Regions from separate parts of the Homo sapiens genome. Here region 1 is linked to region 2. The links are contacts of gene promoters, found by promoter capture Hi-C in human tissues and cell types (Jung and others, 2019). All regions are on one chromosome and are shown on one strand. The core of a region is centred on a gene start or on the middle of the fragment in contact, and the rest is flanking DNA. Distances in the headings are between cores, read along the strand shown.

Evidence for each region. Contacts are between HindIII fragments. The study calls those that stand out against the background at their distance.
Region 1: a fragment that was not itself captured here is called in contact with the fragment with the promoter of NANOGNB in region 2 in 2 of the 25 tissues and cell types used here (psoas muscle and stomach).

The regions. Positions count from the first base shown.
Region 1 is chr12:7,718,188-7,721,172 of GRCh38, reverse strand. No RefSeq gene overlaps it. Among named protein-coding and RNA genes, the nearest start is that of DPPA3, 8.2 kb to the right of the region's middle. The HindIII fragment of the contact is 6,179 bases long and covers 1-2,985 here.
Region 2 is chr12:7,763,900-7,766,744 of GRCh38, reverse strand. It overlaps NANOGNB (NANOG neighbor homeobox), which reads right to left and starts at 1,529. Exons shown (of 4, transcript NM_001145465.1): 1 at 1,358-1,529. The coding sequence starts at 1,459. RefSeq lists an enhancer at 1-418. The HindIII fragment of the contact is 16,312 bases long and covers 876-2,845 here.

The DNA.
Region 1 (2,985 bases), core at 55-2,554, 45 kb after region 2:
CCTTCCTACCCCTTTCCCGCTTCCTATCCCTTCCACATCTTCCCCCCGGCCCCCAACACTACACCTGACTAATTTATTTTTTGTTTGTAGAGACTAGGATCTCACTATGTTGCCAGGCTAGTCTCGAACTCTTGGCCTCAAGCAAATCTCTGGGCTCAGCCACCAAAAGTGCTGAGATTATAGGCATGAGTCACCACATCTGGCCATAAATTTCTTGAATTTTATCCTTCTACTGTGGTTATATAAGTCAATATTCTTGTTCTAAGAAAACACAAACTATTTTGGGATGAAGTGTTATCTGAAATTTACTCTCAAATATCTGTTTAAAAAGAGAAAATATAGAATGTTAAATGAAATGTGGCTAATGCTAACAATTGTTGTATCTAGGTAAAATGTACACACAGGTTTATGAGCTTAAGCTTGCAACTTTATGTAGTTTGAAATTTTTTTAAAAAAAGTTTAAAGTAAAACAAAAAATGTTGAGTGAACAGCAAATAGAGAAATTAACAGCGTTAGCCTGGGCAACACGGTGAAACTCTGTCTCCTCAAACAATACAAAAAATTAGCCGGGCATTGTGGCTCATGCCTGTAGTTCTAGCTACTCAGAAGGCTGAGGTGGGAGGATTGCTTCAGCCCGGGAGGTGGAGTTTGCAGTGAGCCAAGCCTCACTACACTCCCAGCCTGGGCAACTGAGAGAGACCCTGGCTCAAATAAGTAAATATAGAAAAAAAACAACTTTCATATATTACAACCAGTTGAAAAATGTAATGGCAATATTTTAACACACCATAATATAATCTGAAGAGGAAGATATCTGTAGAAAGTACGACTTGGGCCAGGCGCAGTGGCTTACGCCTGTAATCCCAGCACTTTGGGAAGCCGACACGGGGAGAGGTCAGGAGAATTGCTTGAACCCAAGAGGCGGAGGTTGCAGTGAGCCGAGATTGCACCATTGCATTACAGCCTGGGCTACAAGAGCAAAACTCCATCTCAAAAAAAAAAAAAGAAGAAAGTACCGACTTGGCTTAGCTGACTTCCATCTCGGATAAGCCACTTCTTATGTAACTTTGAGCAAGTTCACTACTTTTGTGCTTTTTTTTTTCTGTAAAATGAAGACACCGAAAGTGACCTATCTCAGAAGTTTTGAGGTTTAAATAAGCTAATGCACGTAAAATCCTTAGAATAATGCCTAGCACTCAATAAATGTAAACTGGGAGCATAAAGATTCAGGGCAACTTGAACTGATGCTCTCAGCAGGAAATACATGAAAGGAAGATATTATTATAGAAAGGTTTAAAAATATACCTAAATACTAGCCAGGCGCGGTGTCTCATGCCTATAATCCCAGTACTTTGGGAGGCCAAGGCAGGCAGATTGCCTGAGGTCAGGAGTTCGAGACCAGTCTGGCTAACATGGTGAAACCCTGTCTCTACTAAAAATACAAAAATTAGCTGGGCGTGGTGGCACACGCCTGTAGTCCCAGCTACTTGGGAGTCTGAGGCAGGAGGATCGCTTGAACCTGGGAGGTGGAGGTTGCAGTGAGCAGAGATGGCACCACTGCACTTCAGCATTGGTGACAGAGCGAGACTGCATCTCAAAAGAATACGAAAGGACATGTGACATGTAGAATTAATGTTTTCATTAATTTACAAATTTAACATGATTGCAATAAAAATAAGTTGCCTTTTTTAACTAGTCAGTGATTTTCAAGCTCATACAGAAAAATAATAAAAGTTAGCTTTGCTACTAGGAACGATTTGTAAGTTATAACAAATGCTCTGCCGGGCACAGTGGCTCATGCCTGTAATCCCAGCACTTTGGGAGGCTGAAGTGGGTAGATCATCTGAGGTCAGGAGTTCGATACCACCAACATGGTTAGACCCTATCTGTACTAAAAAATACAAAATTATCTGGGTGTGGTGGCACATGCCTGTAATCCCAGCTACTCAGGAAGCTGAGGCAGGAGAATTGCTTGAATATGGGAGGCAGAGGTTGCAGTGAGCTGATATTGCGCCACTGCCCTCCGGCCTGGGCAACAAGAGTGAAACTCCATCTCAAAAAAAAAAAAAAAAAAAAAAAAAAAGAAATATAACCAATGCTCAATCTGCCCCACATTTGTCCTTGCTGGTAGACCATGTTAAATTTAGTTCTTCAGTGGGGTAACTTCTGATGACCAAACTTGGCAGTGTGGTCCTGCACTCCAGCCTGGGCAACAAAGTGAGACCCCATCTCAAAAAACAAAACAAAAACCACAAAGAAATCACTGGATAGCATCTTCTTGGGTTATTACATATCATGCAGATATCCTTTCCAATTCTCCCTGTGATATTATAAAACATATTTGTTCTTAGTCACCATTTCCTGTCATATAGCTCCTAAAATCTTCAAAATCTCTGGAGTGATAACTTTTGTATGCTAATGGTGACTGCTTTGCTGGGGGCTCCAAGATACCCTCAGGATGTGGGCAGGTTGCCAGGAGAAACCACCAAGTGATTGGAGGGTTGAAAGTTTCACTCCCATTCCGGGACCTCCAGGGGAAGGGACAGGGGCTGAAGGTTGAGTTGATAAACCAATGGCCAGTGATGTAATCAATCATGCCTACCTAATGAAGCTTCCCTAAAAACACAAAAGGAGTTCTGAGGGCTCCTGGACAGTTTCACACTCCTTAAGGGTGGTTCACCCTGCTTGTCTTTTCTCCTATACCTCGCCCTATGCATCTCTTCCATCTGGTTATTCATCTGTATCCTTTGTAATATCCTTCACAATAAGTAAGGTGTTTCCCTGAGTTCTATGAGCCACTAGAGCAAATTAATCAAACTCAAGCAAGGGGTCGAGGGAACCCTGATTTGTAGCTGGTCAGTCAAAAGCACAGGTAAGACAACCTGAAGCTTGTGATTAGCATTAGAAGTGCAGGCAGTCTTGTGGGACTGAGCCTTCAACCTGTAAGATCTGGAGCTATTTCCAGGTAGACAGTGCTGGAATTGA
Region 2 (2,845 bases), core at 280-2,779:
ACCAGCCTGGCCAACATGGTGAAACCCCGTCTCTATTAAAAATACAAAAAACTAATCGGACATGTCTTTTGAACCCCGGGAGGGGGAGGTCGCAGTTAGTTGAGATTGTGCCACTCCAGCCTGGGCAACAGAACAAGACTGTGACTCAAGAAACAAAAACAAAAGAAAAGAAATCAAATGGCCAATTTCCCATCCCCATTTTCTTTTAAGGGTATCGTGGTGGTGAGATAGTGGGTTTGTTTTGTTTTGTTTGTTTGCTGTTTTGTTTTGTTGAGACGGAGTCTCACTCTGAAGCCCAGACTGGAGTGCAGTGGCTGGATCTCAGCTCACCACAACCTCTGCCTTCTGGGCTCGAAGGATTCTCTTGCCTCAGCCTCCTGAGTAGCTGGGACTACAGGCGTGCCTCACCAAGCCCGGCTAATTGTTGTATTTTTGGTGGAGATGGGGGGTTTCATCATCTTGGCCAGGATGGTCTTCAACTCCTGAGCTCAAGCGATCTGCCCCGCTTGGCCTCCCAAAGTGCTGGGATTTGAGGTGTGAGCCACTGTGCCTGGCCTGTCCCCATCTTACTTACTTGAATGATCAGGGGCTTCTGAAGTATCGGGATCTCTCTCCACATTGAAAGAGTTTATTCTCCCACTTCCTGAACACCATCCTTTCCTGGGGCTTCCTCAAGTCAATGGCTGCTCTTTCAAAGCTTTCTTTGTTGCTCCTCTTTCCCCTACTGATTTCTGTCCCTGTGCTTTTTCAATCACACTCAAGGTTAAATCCCTTCACCTCTTATCTCCTTTACATGTAGCTCTAATCCAGGTCATCTAATCTCATGGTTTTTAATACTGCCCAAAAGGGAGATTATTTTCAAATTTTTATTTCCAGTCTTCTATGTCAAACTCCCAATTCAATATCTCTGCTTGGATGTCTAATAAGTTATGTGAATTGAACTTAAAATTCCCAAACTCAGTTTATGGCTCCCTTCACTGAACGCTGACCCACTCAGGCCTCTCTATCTTAGTAAAGCCAACTCCATCTGCCCAGTGGTTTGAGTCAAAAAGCTTGGTGCTGTCTTTCACTTCTTCCCTTTCTCATAGCTCAACTCAATCTGTCAGAAAGTCTTGCTTTTCTTTCTTTAAAATATATCCAGACAACTGCCACTTCTTTTTTTTTTTTTTTTTTTTGAGACGGAGTCTCACTCTGTCGCCCAGGCTGGAGTGCAGTGGCGCGATCTCGGCTCACTGCAAGCTCCGCCTCCCGGGTTCACGCCATTCTCCCGCCTCAGCCTCCAGAGTAGCTAGGACTACAGGCGCCCGCCACCACGCCCAGCTAATTTTTTGTATTTTTAGTAGAAACGGGGTTTTACCTTGTTAGCCAAGATGGTCTCGATTTCCTGACCTCGTGATCTGCCCGCCTCGGCCTCCCAAAGTGCTGGGATTACAGGCGTGAGCCACCGCGCCCGGTGCATTGAGGAGTTTTAAAGACCAATTAGTCCTTGGTAGGGAGGTTACAGAGATGACCGACCAGATAAGGTAGATGTCATCCATCTTTTGGATGTCAGTGGGCCACAAATATGAGCACCCAGTGGCAATTCACAAAAGGAATTCCACAAAAAGAACACATTTCCTGACATCTATTTTTGGAGCCATGAAGAAAAAAAACTTTTCAAATAGCCATATGAAAAATGTTCAATTTACATGTTGCAGAGTGTCCCAAATAGTGAGATATACTGATAAGAAAATGCTTTCCAAAATACAGTGGAGAGACAGGAAAAAAAAAATGTAGGGCTGGGCGTGGTGGCTCATGCCTGTAATCCTAGCACTTTGGGAGGTCAAGGCGGGCAGATCATTTAAGATCAGAAGTTCAAGACCAGCCTGACCAACATGGTAAAACTCCATCTCTACTAAAAATACAAAACTTAGCTTGTGTAGAAGTACGTGCTTGTGATCCCAGCTACTTGGAGGCTGAGGCAGGAGAATCGCTTGAACCTAAGAGGCAGAGGTTGCAGTGAGCCAAGATACTGCCACTGCACTCCATTCGGGGACAGACAGTGAGACTCCATGTTAAAAATAAATAAATACATAAATATTTTATGAAAATGCTACTTGGTCGGGTGAGGTGTCTCACATCTGTAATCCTAGTATTTTGGAAGGCCAAGGCAGAAGAATTGTTTGAGCTCAGGAGTTCAAGAACAGCTTGGGCATCACGGTGAGACCCCTGATTCCATTATTATTATTATTATTATTATTATTATTATTATTATTATTTTAATTTTTGAGACGAAGTCTCCTTTCTTGTCCCCCAGGCTGGAGTGCAATGGTGCAATCTTGGCTCACTGCAACCTCCGCCTCCCAGGTTCAAGCGATTCTCCTGCCTCAGCTTCCCGAGTAGCTGGGATTACAGGCACCTGCCACCACGCCCGGGTAATTTTTGTATTTTTAGTGGAGACAGGGTTTCACCATGTTGGCCAGGCTGGCCTCGAATTCCTGACATGAGGTGATCTTCCTGCCTTGGCCTCCCAAAGTGCTGGGATTACAGGTGTGAGCCACCGCTGCCCAGCCCATTTTATTTATTTATTTATTTATTTATTTATTTATTTATTTATTTATTTTTGAGACAGAGTCTTACTCTGTCACCAGGCTGGAGTGCACTTGTGTGATCTCGGCTCACTGCAACCTCCACCTCCCAGTTTCAAGTGATTCTCCTACCTCAGCTCCAAGTAGCTGGGATTACAACCAAGTGCCACTATGCCCAGCTAATTTTTTGTATTTTTAGGAGAGATGAGGGTTTCTCCATGTTGGCCAGGCTGGTTTGGAATTCCTGACCTCAAGCGATCTGCCTGCCTTGGCCTCCC